Linked DNA regions of Homo sapiens: regions 2, 3 and 4 are each linked to region 1. Evidence: promoter capture Hi-C in human tissues and cell types (Jung and others, 2019). All regions are on one chromosome and are shown on one strand. The core of a region is centred on a gene start or on the middle of the fragment in contact, and the rest is flanking DNA. Distances in the headings are between cores, read along the strand shown. Region 1 holds the start of TSNARE1 (t-SNARE domain containing 1). Region 2 has its middle 170 kb from the start of MIR1302-7. Region 3 has its middle 42 kb from the start of MIR4472-1. Region 4 has its middle 120 kb from the start of MIR1302-7.

Region 1 (3,397 bases), core at 392-2,891:
CTGGCTGCCCATGAGCCCCTAGACTGAGTGCCTAGGTCTAGGCTCTTGACCCAGCATCTACAGAAGGCCAGACTCAGGGGAAGTGTCCAGGGAAGGTTCCTGGATAGAGTCAGAGCAGCCAGAGGCTGCCAGATGTTCATGGGGCCAGGCCAGCAGAGGAGGAGAGAAACAGAGGTGACCCAGCCAAAACTCAACCTCCTCCAGGAAGTCGTCTTGGATTTGCCAGCCTCCCACAGCCACCTGCATTCACGGCCTGTGCTGCTGTGTCCAAACATTTGTTCTACCAGATTTCTGCTGCGGTCCTGTGATGTATGGGGTCGAACGGTATGAAAGCAGCGGTTCAGTCGGGGGAAGCACTCCAGTACTAACAAACTTCAGCTTTCTTTCAACTCAATACTGTGTCCACACTGGGAGTATCCTAAGCAACAATCCCCACCCCTGTCTCACAGGCACTAAAGATAAAACAGAAAACAAGCAGATGAGTGACAATGACAAACAAGAAATACTGTAGGGAGAGCGGTCAGAAAGGTGAGCTCAGACATACCGGAAGCGGAGCTGCCCCCAAGCCAGGAGCGAGCCAGGAACTAAAAGAAGAGGCAAGTGTGCAGCAGAGGAAAGAAAGGGCGCCAGGTGTGGCTGGAAAGGCACCTGGCAGGATGAGGGGCGGAGAAGCACCGGCGGAGCAGCACGCGCGAGGCCCATTTTGAGCCGCACCACACCGCTCACAGAACTTCCTGTGATAAGCAGTGTTCCCTACCCGCGCTGCCCCACACAGCCGCCACCAGACACGTGTGGCTACTGAGTGTCGGACATGTGACCACTGGCACGGAGGACCTGAATCCTTCACGTTAAGGACAATGTAAACAGCCACACATGCCTAGGGGCTACCACACTGGACATGGCAGAGCTTCCAGAGCAGGAGGAGTGCGCCATGAGGCAACAAACACGAGGTCCCTGGAGAGTTTCTGCGGGGGCAGCACAGATCAACATCACCTGAAAGTCCCTGGTGGGGATGTCGCAGGCCCCAGTACCCAGGAAGCACCTTCTTACAACTTGGAGAAGGGACAGAAAGGCATGGAGAGGCAAGCACACAGGAACGGGGTCCCCAGCTCAGGCTCGAAGGCGGGCTCCGCTCGTTGAGCTGCAGGGCACCAACCCTTGCACCCAGCAAGTAGGCGCTGGGGCGCTCCCCGGGACGGCACTGACCTCCAGGCGCAGGCACCGGCTGCCCGGCCCAGAGCCCACCGACCTGGGGTCTGAACAGCGCGCGAGGACCCGCCGAGGGGCTCATGTGCCCGCGGGCCGGTCCCCGAAATGCGGCGCTCTCGCGGGGCTGCGGCTCAGGGTCCCTGGCGCCCCTGGGGTCCACCCCCGGCACGGTCCCGCCCCCTCCCCTCCCCACCGGCGCGGCCCCGCCCCCCGCCCGGCCTCCCGCAAGCCCCATACCACGCCACGCCGCGGCCCCCGCCGGGCTCCGGGCCCCGCGCTGGTCCCCGGCCGCCTCGCCCTCGCCGCCCCACGCCCGGCCCCGGCCAGGCCCCAGCCCCACCGCCGCCGCCTCACCTGGGCCTCGGTGGCTCGCGGACCGCTCCGGGCGCTCACGGCGGGCGAGGCGGGCGGGGCGGGCACCCAAACATCACGTGACGGCCCCTCCCGCCGCCGGCGTGCGCGCCCCCTCCCGCACCAGCCAATGGCCGCCGGTCCCGGACGCGCGCGGGGACTACCCGCCCCAGAGGCCCCGGCGCGGAGCCGGAAGCGGCGCGGACGGCGGTCGGCTGGGCCAAGAGGCCTCTGCGGGTGCGCGCGCGAGTCGGCTGTCCTCACTTGCCTGGTGGTGGGCCTCCGTTTCCCCGTTTCCCCGTTTTGCATATGGGGATGACGGCGAAGGTGGAGGTCACGTGGAGGGCGGCGGCCCGGCGCTGAGGCGCTTCGGGAGCGGGCTCCGCCCAGCCCAGGCCGAGCCCGGACCTCACACGGGCCAAAGCTGGAGCTTCTGCGGGGCTGCGCAGGCGGCGGGTCTCGGCCAGGGCAGGGCCGGGCACCTGCGCGTCTCGCGCTGCGGGGACGGGCGTTGGGCCCCAAGTCAGGCTGCACGGGCTCCGCGTGGGGCCGTGCTCGGCCGGGGGCTGGCAGGCCCCGCGGGGACTCCGGACTCCCAGTGTCACCAACGAGGAAACTGAGTCTCAAGACATCTGAGGGACCTTTGCCCGAGGTCGCAGCCCCTCCCTGGAGGAGCTGAAGTGCAGAGTAGGGAGCCCCTTGCGGAGACCCTCCTGGGACCTCCTTCCGCAGGGGCCTGGGGCGCCTCCCTTTCCCTGCTCTGCCTGCGGGCACTGAGCTCCCGAAAGACTCCAGCCCCTCGCTCTCCCGGTGACCTGCTGGAGAAGACACCTGGGAGGAACCTGCGGACAATGGGTGTGTGTCCTTGGGCCGCCAGGGTCACCTTTCAGCCTGTTTCCCCAGAGGTGAACCAAGAGTCACACCCAAGGCAGGAGAGCAAGAGTGATGAGTCCGCTGCACCTTCTCCGGCAAGCGGAGGTTCTCCCGCCGCCCTCACTCTGTGATGCTTGCTGTGCTTGCGAGGCCTACGCCAAAGCCCTGCGGGCAGCCCTGGGCTCCCGCGGACAGCCTTGCTGAGCTCCTGGGAAGGAGGCGTGCCCTCCCCTTCCCCCACCGCCCCGCTGGCTGGGGTTCTCTGCAGCCCAGGACTGTGCATGTGTGCGCACACGGGTTCTGTGAACACGAACACAAAAGTGTGCTCGTGGACACTGCGTGGTACTGTGTGCACACAGCGCACGTCTGTGAGCTGAGGGAGTGTTCCTGGACACCAGGTGCAAGTGCACAAGTGTGTGTATGCTGGCACAAGTGTGTGCCCAGGCGCAAACATGGGAACGGTAGTATATGGCACAAATGTGTGCACACATGGGTGGGAGGGAAGAGGGGCACATGCCCACCAGCATTCCTGGGCTGGTGCTCAGGCCGGCCTGTCCTGGGCCCACCCACGCTCCTTGCCTTGGTGTATTTCAGTCTCCCCTGGGCTCCCAGGAGGCAGTAGTGTGTGCCTGTCTTGCAGCCTCGCCATGATTTGGACAGGGCTTCACTCTTCGGCTAGGACAGCTAGAGTGCAGGGAAGCCGGCTCCTAACCAGGGAGGATGCCCATGACTGCTGACCCCCCAGCTTCCACTTGAAGGGGAAGGTTCGCCAGGACCAATGCCTGTCTGAGAGCTGTCAGTCTGGACTGAGGATGCCGGGTGCCTGGCACGGTGCCCACCTCCCCTTCCGTGGCTGGCGCTGTCTGTCTGGCCGCCACCTCACTCAGCCTCCTCTGACAGCTCCGTGTTCAGGTGTGCAAAGGAGGGGAAAGTGAAGCCCTTTCCTCCCAGGGCAGACCACCTC
Region 2 (3,421 bases), core at 770-3,269, 450 kb before region 1:
GCACAGGGATAAAAGCTGCAGGGAGAGCCCTACCCCAGGGACTGTGGTGGTGCCACTGAGTGAGGAAGGCATCTGGAAGAGGGGACCCACATCTGCAATCCAGACCTCACTGGAGAGAGCATGGCTCTGGTCCGCTGTGTGGGGAAGTTCCCTGAGGTGTCATAAGCCGGGGCTGCCAAGCAGCTTAGCGTACATCAAGTTGCCTATAAAATTCTCTGGAAAGCTTTCCCAGTTCAGAAGAAAACTATCTGCAATGTAAGCAGGGTAATTGGGAAGGGCAATGAGAAGAACGAAGAGGGCAAATATGTGGATAATAATGAAAAACAGTAGGATTCACACATATGCGAAAGAAGAATGCATGAGAACATCACAGCTTTGCCAAATGGGAAGGGGCTTACATTGGACGAACCTTCCCACCAGAAATCATCACAGGAGAACCCCATTTGATTGCACTTGCCAGATACTACGATTTTCAAAGCTGGAAGGTTTGTGGCAACCCTGCGCTGAGCAAGTCTGTGCCATTTTCCCAAGAGCATGGGTTCGCTTCAGGTCTCTGTGTTATTTCTGTAATTCTTAGGTTTTGGTAATTCTTGCAATATTTCGAACATTTAAATTATGCCTTTTATGGTGATCTGTGAACAGTGATCTTTGATGTTACTATTGCAATTGTTTAGGGGCACCATGAATTGTGCCCATGAAAGACTATGACCTTGACCAATAAATGTTGTGTGTCTCCTGACTGCTCTCCTAGTCGTCTCCCCATCTCTCTCCCTCTCCTAGGGCCTCTGTGTTCCCTCAGACACAACAATATTGAAATTAGACTAATTAATAACCTTGCCATGGCCTCATGTTCAGATGAAAGGAAGAGTCACACTTCTCTCACTTCCAATCAAAAGCTAGAAATGCTTCAGCTTAGTGAGAAAGCAGGTTGAAAGCTGAGATAGGCCAAAAGCTGCACTTCTTGGGCCAAACAGCCACGTTGTGAATGTAAAGAAAAACCTCTTGAAGGAAATTAAAGGTGCGGCTCCAGAAAACACGCAAATGATAAGAAAGTGAAACAGCCTTCTTTCTGAGATGGTGGAAGTTTGAGTGGTCTGGACAGAAGATCAAACCAGCCACAACATTCCCTTAAGCCAAAACCTAGTCCAGAGCAAGGCCCTAGCTCTCTTCAATTCTGTGAAAGCTGAGAGAGGTTAGGAAGCTGCAGAAGAGAAGCCTGAAGCTAGCAGACGTTGATTCATGAGGTTTAAGGAAAGAGGCTGACTCTGTAACACAAAAGTGCAAGACGAAGCAGCAAGCGCTTGTGGAGAGGCTGCAGTAAGACGTCCGTTAGACCTAGCTAAGATCATTGAGGAAGGTGGCTACAATAAACATGAAGGTGGCTACAATAAACAACATATTTTCAGAGTAGATGTAACAGCCTTCTACTAGAAGAAGATGCCATCTAGGACTTTCACAGCTAGAGGGGAGAAGTCAATGCCTGGCTTCAAAGCTTCAGAGGACAGGCTGACTCCCTTGTGAGGGGCTAATGCAGCTGGTGACTTTAAACTGAAGCCAATGCTCATTTCCCATTATGCAAATCCTAGGGCCCTTAAGAATGATGCTAAATCCACTCTGCCTGTGCTCTAGACATGGAACAACAAGGCTGAATGACAACATTTGAATGACAAACCTGTTTACAGCATGGTTTACTGAATATTTTAAGCCTAATGTTAAGACTTATTGCCCAGAAAAAAAAAAAAAAGAAGAAAAGATTACTTTCCAAATACTAATGTGACAGTTCACCTGGTCACTCAAGAGCTCTGATGGAGGCCGGGCATGGTGGCTCATGCCTGTAATCCCAGAACTTTGGGAGGCCCAGGTAGGTGGATCACCTGAGGTCAGGAGTTCAAGACCAGCCTGACCAACTTGGTGAAACCCGACCTCTACTAAAAATACAAAAATCAGCCAGGCATGGTGGCACATGCCTGTAATTAATTCTAGCTACTCGGGAGGCTGAGGCACAAGAATTGCTTGAACCTGGGAGGCAGAGGTTGCAGTGAGATAAGATCATGCCACTGCACTCCAGCCTGGGAGACAGAGTGAGACTCTGTCCAAAAAAAAAAAAAAAAAAAGGTCTGATGGAGATGTACGAGGAGATGAACGTTGTTTTGCTATTTTTATGCTTGTTAGGACAACATCCCTTCTACAGCCCTGGATCAAGGAGTCATCTCAACTTTCTTCTTATTTAACAAATACATTTTGTAATACTACAGATGCCACAGATAGATTTCTGTCATGAAGAACATTTGTCATTCATGGAAGGAGGCCAAGATGTCAATATTAATAGTTTGGAAGAAGTTGATTCCAACCCTTTGAGGGATTTCAGACTTCAGTGGAGGAAGGAACTGTAGATATGGTGGAAATAGCAAGAAAACTAGAATTAGAAGTGGAGTCTGAAGATGTGACTGAATTCCTGCAATCTCATGATCAAATCTGAACAGATGACGAGCTGCTTCTTATGGATGAGCAAAGAAAGTGGTTTCCTGAGATGGAATCTACCCCTGGTGAAGATGCTGTGGACATTGTTGAAATCACAACAAAGGATTTATAATATTCCATACGCTTTGTTGAGAAAGCAGTGGCTGGGTTTGAGAAGGTTGGCTCCAATTTTGAAAGAAGTTCTACCATGGGTCAATTGCTACCTCATGCTACTGGGAAAGCTTTTGTGAAAGAAAGAGTTGATTGATGCAGCCAGCTTTACTATTGTCTTATTTTAAGAAACTGACACAGCCACTTCAGTGTTCAGCAACCTCCACCCTGATCCATCAGCAGCCAACATCACCCAGGCAAGATCCTCCACCAGCAAAAATATGATGACTCCCTGAAGGCTCAGAGGATCATCAGCATTTTTAGCAATCAAGTATTTTTAAATTAAAGTATGTACATTTTTAGACATAATGCTATTGCACGCTTAGTAGACTCAAGGATGGTCTAAATATAACTTTTATATGTACAGAGAAACCAAAAAAACTGTGACTCATTTTATTGTGATATTTACTGTATTGTGGTGGTCTGGAACCAAACCTGCAACATGTCCAATCTCTGCATGTATAAGCTCTGGGTAAGACATCAAAATAACTGTTGGGAGGCACTGGAGAGTGACTAAACAGGCAGAATCTGGAGGAGAGACACAGCTCCTGAGATAAGGGGTTTAATCTGGGTAAGTTTTATGTGCATCTGGCTATTCTCCTGAGGGAATTTCCCGTCTGCAGGGCCCAAGAAGATTAGAGGACAAGAAAGCAGCAGTCTCACCGGGCTGGGGAATCAGGAATCCATGTTTAGGACTTCCAGCGGGGCTGGAAATTGAAGAAGAAAATGCTGGATTGAGGAAGTTGCATAGGATGATTCCCTGAATCTGTACACTTCCCTCAAATTCTTG
Region 3 (3,456 bases), core at 723-3,222, 270 kb before region 1:
AAAGCCACCGCTCCAAGGAATTGCTTCGTCTCCCCGGGCCTCAGCTCTGTCATCTGTGAAATGCGGACTGGCAGCGTCCACCAGGCCTGGCAGCCTGAGGCTCAAGGTGTGGATTCGGTGAGTTCATGTCTGTGAAGCTCCCAGGACACGCTGCACGCAGCCGTGAGGAATGTCAGCCTGACCGAATCCACGGGACTCTCGGCTCCTGGAGTCAGGACAGACCCTGCATCACCCTGGCTCCTCTGGGTTCCCGTGTGGTGCCCCGAGGTCGGGCTTAGCACAGAATGGCTGAGGGGCCCAGGCGTGGTGCAGAGCTGCGGAGAGAGCTGCCCCACAGATGGCCGGAGAACCAGGCAGCATCCTCTGAAAGACAGCGCTCCAGCTGAGGCTCAGAAAAGACAGACGGATACAGGAGACGCCAGAGAAGTGAATGGAGTTTGCAGAAATGTCTGCGGCTGCAGCTTGGAGGGCACAGCCAGTCCGGCAGGACAGTCTGAGGAGCACCCCGGGTGGGGGTGGGGACAGCTGGAGAGCCGGGGCTCAGGTGGGGCCAGGGCAGTAAATAGTGGGTGGTGTTGGTCCCCATTTTATGGATGAGAGAGCTGAGGCTTGGCAAGCCTAAGCAGTTCCTTTGAAGGCTCGGGAAGGGCCTTGAGCCGGGAAGAAAGCTCTGGCCTTATTCTGTGAGTCCAGGGGAGCCATAGAAGGTTCTTGAGCAGGGGAGTGGCTTTGGCAGCTACCTACTTAGAACAGTCCCTGCAGGGGCCTCAGAGACTCACTCCAGACCTCCCTCTCTAGAAACGGGAAACGTCTACCCTTTGCAGGTGGCGGTGCTCTGTTCTGGACCACACATGTGGACTTCTGTAGCACACGGCGCTCTTCCAGACACTCAGACCAAAACAGGTGACATCCCACAGAGGGTCAGATGGTGCAGGACACACAGCATGTGGGGAAATCACCTCATATGTCAGAGGGGACACCTGGTGTGGAAAAAACAGCCAGGGAGCTGCCCAGAGGGCTGGGGGGCTGGGGAGGGCTGGGGGGCTGGGGAGGGCTGGGGTACATTTGAGGATTGGAGGTGGAGAAGGCACTGGCCACGTGAGCTGGGGAAGAAAATGCAGGGGCCATGGCTGAGTAGACTCCGTATGGTTAAGGCCCATATGGAGGGACCCAGGGGTCAACAGTGGGGGCCAAGTTCGGGGTCATGGGAAGGGGCTGTGAGCCAGGGAGCCAGGGAAGGTGGCCCTCATGGCAAGGGTGGAGCAGGAGAGCCCTGGCCTGATGCTTGGCTGGAGCACGCTGGCTGCTGGGGACAGGTGATGGCCAAGGAGCCCAGACAGAAGCTGCTGCCACAGTCCAGGAGAGGTATGCTGGGGACTCAGCCTGGGGGGACAGAGGCCTGGGAGGAAGTGGTCAGACTGGACATATCTGAAGGCGGGATGGCGTGGGGCGTGGCTTCCAGCCGCGAGTATTCTAAGCTTTCTCACCCTGGGTGCCCCCTCTGCTCACCTGCTGTGTCAGAGCCGTGGTGCAGGCTAAGAGACCCAAGGCCACCAGGACCCGCGTGCACGGGCCATTTGGCTCTGCACAGAACCGGTCTGAGCCGTGGACCTGGAATTCTCTAACCCCAAGGGACTGCAGCTTTCCCATGTCAGTTCAGCCACCTGTGACGTCTTGCTTTGGTGACAGTGTCTCTCTTTAGCAGGAAAATAAACCTTTAGTTCCGATCTGTCATCATCCATTTGTGGGTGACATCACAGAAGTTATTTATCATTATTAGAATTGGGGACCTCCAGGTGTGGCTGTTCCTAGATGGGGCATTCCCCCTCCTCCCAGCTCTGGGGCTCGATTTCCATCTGAAGCCCCGACTCCACAACCAGGCAGCTGGGGTCTCACCCTTAACACTGAGGGAAGAGCGTTCCACAGAGGGAACAGCCAGCGCAGGAACCCCGAGGCCGGGCCTCTGAGGAGCTGGAGGAGGCCCCATGTAGCGGGCTCTGCTGGGAGGCCCCAGAATGACTAGGCAAGAGCTTGTGCATTCACCAGAATTAACCCTTTCTGGCCAAAGTGAGCCAGAAATCACAGGTCCCCAAGCGCTTTCAATGCAGATAGCAGATCAGGGCTCAGCATGGCCAAGGCTCCAGGTTTCTGGATCCTTAAAAACAAATGGATGACAGCTCTGTGTAATTAACCATATCTGATAATTAGAGCTTGAACTGTGCAGGCAGCACAGACTGTGGACTCTTCCAAAGTAGCAGCAGACACAGACACGCACACACCACACACACACACTCTAGCAGTAGACACAGACACGCACACACCACACACACACACTCCAGCAGCAGACACACACACACACACACACACATGCACACATTACACGCACACACCCATGAACCCTGGGCGCTCTCAGCAAGGCGACCTCAGGGGCACTGGAAGCCCTGGAGGAAAGGGACGGCACCTTCCTGACATCAGGGAGAAGCAACAGCCCATGCGCAAAGGCTGCAAGAGAGAGACAGAGAGAAAGAGACAGAGAGAGGAGAGAAAGACAAGGCTACTGGGCAGCCCCCACCCCTGCACAGGGCTGGCCGGCCTCCCGTGGCCCGACCTCCTGAAGGACAGTGCCTCCTCTCGGTCATCAGAACCTGCTTCCCCTGGGTCCTGGCCCTCCTGTGGCCTCTTCTCCCCTTTGCTGTCCCAGCAGCACTGCTGTACTCCCCAAACCTACAGCAGCCTTCACCTGGGGCCCTCTGGGGCTGGCCCGCTGACCAGAGCCCCACTCCCACTCAGGCCTGGGGTGCCGGCCCTCCTGCCCCTCCCTGAGACGCCCTTGCTGCCTGGCCAGAGAGGCCTTTGGCGCCCATGGCAGATCCTGGGCTTGGTCCAGCACCACCCCGGTACGGGACACGGCCACCTCTGCCTTGCCCTCCCATGGCCCCGTGAGCACTACCCGCCCTGGACTGTATGTCAATGACGAGGTCCCAGGCCCGGGACTTGGCCAGCCACAGCCCCCACGTCACAGATGTTTTCACACCTAGGCCCTGTTCCCTCCTTGTCCTGAATGAACACAAGGGCCTCCTGCCCCAGGGCCTTGGCATGTGCTGCCCTGGCTTCCTGGAGCCCTTCTCCCCAGACCTCTGCACGGCTCACTTCCTGTCACTCAGCGCTCAGCCCAGGTGCCCTCCGCAGAAAGCCGTGTCCCGCTCGCTACCCATCTGAGGAGGGCCCCGCCCCGCTGGCGCTTTCCACCTGTGGCCTTGCCCGACTGTCCTCAGCACTCCATCCACCCAGCCGCTCCTCCGGAACCTAAGCTCCGAAGCCAGGCCGTGCTCTCTTCCCAGCGCCGCTTCCGCATCTCCCACTTGAAGAGCAGGGAAGCACTCGTCGCATCTCGCCAGGGCCACGACGATTTGCTCACCGTGAAAGGACTGATTGACTGTGTGAATAACTGAACAC
Region 4 (3,555 bases), core at 71-2,570, 500 kb before region 1:
ATTGAACTTGGTTCCCTGCCAGCCCCTCCAACCACCTGGCCTTGTCTCCCAGACAGCAGCAGCTAGTGATCGGGCCAGCTGCTGTCCATCAAGGAAGCCAGGCCCAAAGAAAGAGCTAAAGCACATCGCCAGGGCCCCGTCCCAGCTCTGGAACTTGCTGGAAATGAGAGAAGCCAAGGTGATATTGTCCAGCGAAGGCACCATGGATCCTCCAGGAGCGGGGGGCCCATGCGTTTCCACAGGCGTTGGGGGATGAACCCGGTGCATACTGAAGCTCGCACTGCATCCCTGCAGCAGAGGCTGTGCCCGCCCTGCGGCTGGGTCCTGAGCCTTCCTGGGGGGATGTCAGTGCCATCCTCTTGAAGGGAAACTGTGAGCAGGATGAGAGGCCGGAGAAGCAACTGACGGCTCCCTGCAGAGACCCATCAATTGTCCCAGTATGATTTCTTAATCATCTGGCAAGTAATTAGCCGGTATCCTCATTAGCACGCAGGAGATTTGTAAAAGTTTCGGGGAGGAGGCGGCTGCACTGAGCGAGTTTTAATTACAGACGAACCGACCGGGGACAGGCGCCTTGGCAGTTGTGCCGCCTGTTTACGTTTCACCAGTTCTTGGAAATGAAAAGCAAAACGCTTGTCACTCATCTTTGTGATCATCCCGAGAGACAGAAAAGGACAAGGGGAACGAAAAGTGTGGGGTGGCCGGTGTTGCCCCTGGATGAGACCTTGAGCGGTAACGGGGTATGGATCTTGGGGGACGGGGTCTCAGTCCATCCGACTGCTCTAGCCATGTGCCACGGACTGGGTGGGATCCAAAAACCCGGCCTGCATTCCCACGGCTCTGCAGCCCGGACGCCCAAGACCAGGGCGGGTTCCGTGTCTGGGGAGGGCTGATGTTCCCGGTTCACAGACGGCGCCTTCAGGCTGTGTCCTCATATGAGGGGAGGGGGAGGGAAGCTCTGGCCTCCTCTAAGGACACTCAGCCCACTGACAAGGGCTCCGTCCCCAGGACCTCAGGCCCTTTCTCCTAACACCATCACACGGGGCTACAAGGTTTGCACGCTCACTCCCGCAACTGTGTGCTCGCATGCCTTTGTGTGTCTGTGTGAGTGTGTGGAGAGCATACATGTGACAGTGTGTCTATGTGTGAGTGTGTGGGAGAGTGTGTGGTGTGTGACAGAATGTGTGTGTGTGACTGTGTGAGTGTGTGTGTGGGAGAATGTGTGGTGTGATGTGTGTGTCAGTGTGTGAGAGTATGTTTTGTGTGTGCATGAGCATGTTGCTGTGTATGTGTAAGTGTGTGGGAGACAGTGTGTTTGTGTGTGCGTGTGAGACAGCGTGTCATAAATGTATGTGAGCATGTTGGTGTGTGTGAGTGTGTGGGAGACAGTGTGTTTTGTGTAAGTGTGTAGGAGATAGTGTGTGTGTGATTTGAACTTGGTGTGAGTGTGTGTGGGAGACTGTGTTGTGGGCATGTTGGTGTGTGTGTGTGTGGAAGACTGTGTTTTGAGCATGTTGGTGTGAGTGTGTGGGAGACAGTGTGTTGTGTGTGAGTGTGTGTGGGAGACAGTGTGTCGTGAATGTATGTGAGCATGTTGGTGTGCATTTGTGTAAGTATGTGTGAGACAGTGTGTTGTGTGTATGAGACAGTGTGGTGTGTGTGTGAGAGTGTGTTTTGTGTGAGTGTGTGTGGGAGACAGTGTATTGTGAATGTATGTGAGCATGGTGTGTGTTTGTGTGAGTATGTGTGAGACAGTGTGTTGTGTGTATGAGACAGTGTGGTGTGTGTGTGTGAGACTGTTTTGTGTGAGTGTGTGTGGCAGACAGTGTGCTGTGCATGTATGTGAGCATGTTGGTGTGTGTGAGTGTGTGGGAGACAGTGTGGTGTCTGTGAGTGTGTGTGGTGTGTGGGAGACAGTGTGTTGTGAGCATGTTGGTATCTATGATGGTTAATACTAAGTGTAAACTTGATTGGATTGAAGGATGCGAAGTATTGTTGCTGGGTGTGTCTGTGAGGGTGTCGCCAAAGGAGTGGTTTGCCAGGGGCTCTGGGGCCTTCGGCCACAGACTGAAGTGCACCGTCTCCTTCCCTGCTTTTGAGGTTCCCTTTATATACATCTATCCTATTAGTTCTGTCCCTCTAGAGAACCCTAACACAGTATGTGTACATGTGAATGCGTGTGTGAGAGAGTGTGTGGTGTGTACGTGTGAAGAATGTGTCAGCATGTGAGTGTCAGCATGGGTGAGTGAGTGTGTGTGGGGTGTTTCAGGATGAGAGAGTGCATGTGTGGCTATGTGTGTGACAGCATGTTTTGTGTGTGTGTGAGCATGTTGGTGTATGTGTATGTGTGAGTGTGTGGTGTGTGTGTCAGCAAGGGAGAGTGTGTGTGAGACTGTGTGTGTGAGAGCATGTTTTGTGTGTGTGGGTGAGCATGTTGATGTGTGTATCTCTGTGAGTGTGCAATGTGTGAGTGCGAGTGTGTCAGCATGTGAGTGTATGGGTGTGTGCCTGCTCGTGTCTCCTGATGTGCTCAGTGTGGAGAAGCAGCATCCCCTTCCATCTGTAGGGCAGCTGGGAAGGGCCTACAGTATGGCCTAGTTGTTCACGACGCATGTATAGTATGAAAGGCCACACATATCCTGCAGTTGAGGAACTGAAGTTTTTCTTGGCCTATCATTTCTCAAGCATCACTGTTAAACTTGATTTTTTTTGCAACAACAGAAATCCCACCAGGCTTGAGTGCCGGGAACAGCCCAGAAACCCCACAGTTGTTATAAACCTGCTATGCGCCAGGCACTGCCCATCTAGCATTGTATCCACCCCTAGCCAAACCCTGAACGGGGTGGACGCTGACAATCAAACAGGTGGCGTGTGCAAAGTCACTCTGCCCACAGGCGGCAGACAGAATTCTCTTCCTGGGCCCTCAGATGGAAAGCTCCCCAACCAGCCACCACCTCTGCCAACCGAGAAGCCAGTGCTGCACTCGGGGAGGCCCCTCGCTTTCCCCCGGCCTCCACCTGTGGTCCGAGGAGGAGGATTGAGTGCTCTCCACAGATCCAAAAGGGAACAGTCCCGAGGGTGGGTGACTGGGCTCCACACGCCCGCAATGGTAGGGCCGGGCCCTCCTTCCCAGGCTCCTGCATCCTCGGCCCAGCCTCCCCCTACACTGTGCCAAGGCCCAGCCTTCCCCAAGGCCTGACACGGGCTCAGCCAGCCAGGAGCTGTCCCACACGGCAGCCACCAGCAAATGTGAGGCTTACCCTAAAATGAAAACTCATCCAAATCAGACGCAGTTGAGAATCCCACTCCTCAGACGCACTTGCCACAAGGCGAAGGCTCAGCAACCCCACAGGGCAGTGGCTGCCATGGCGCACCACACGGACACAGAACACGGCGGCATCCAGAGTGTTCCGCAGGTCCGCTCTATCGCAGGCCGGGCACGCTTTGCTCAGAGGCCCACACTGCAGAAGTCCAGTCTCAGCAGACTGTCACCACCGCCCATCGCCACCCTGGGAGAGTGAAGGCCGTCGTAGGCAGGAGACAAACTGCTGGATG

What was found. The method cuts DNA at HindIII sites, captures the fragments that hold promoters and counts their contacts. A contact is called where the count stands out against the background at its distance.
Region 2: a contact is called between a fragment that was not itself captured here and the fragment with the promoter of TSNARE1 in region 1, in 4 of the 25 tissues and cell types used here (IMR-90 fibroblasts, bladder, dorsolateral prefrontal cortex and 1 more).
Region 3: a contact is called between a fragment that was not itself captured here and the fragment with the promoter of TSNARE1 in region 1, in 4 of the 25 tissues and cell types used here (H1 embryonic stem cells, lymphoblastoid cells, mesendoderm cells and 1 more).
Region 4: a contact is called between a fragment that was not itself captured here and the fragment with the promoter of TSNARE1 in region 1, in 4 of the 25 tissues and cell types used here (H1 embryonic stem cells, IMR-90 fibroblasts, dorsolateral prefrontal cortex and 1 more).

What each region holds. Positions count from the first base shown.
Region 1 is chr8:142,401,541-142,404,937 of GRCh38, forward strand. TSNARE1 (t-SNARE domain containing 1) reads right to left here and starts at 1,642. Exons shown (of 14, transcript NM_145003.5): 1 at 1,564-1,642. RefSeq lists silencers at 1,201-1,340, 1,481-2,050, 2,491-2,540 and an enhancer at 1,772-2,547. The HindIII fragment of the contact is 11,624 bases long and covers 1-3,397 here.
Region 2 is chr8:141,950,510-141,953,930 of GRCh38, forward strand. No RefSeq gene overlaps it. Among named protein-coding and RNA genes, the nearest start is that of MIR1302-7, 170 kb to the left of the region's middle. The HindIII fragment of the contact is 4,956 bases long and covers 1-3,421 here.
Region 3 is chr8:142,132,946-142,136,401 of GRCh38, forward strand. No RefSeq gene overlaps it. Among named protein-coding and RNA genes, the nearest start is that of MIR4472-1, 42 kb to the right of the region's middle. RefSeq lists an enhancer at 47-608. The HindIII fragment of the contact is 9,774 bases long and covers 1-3,456 here.
Region 4 is chr8:141,899,672-141,903,226 of GRCh38, forward strand. No RefSeq gene overlaps it. Among named protein-coding and RNA genes, the nearest start is that of MIR1302-7, 120 kb to the left of the region's middle. The HindIII fragment of the contact is 8,163 bases long and covers 1-3,555 here.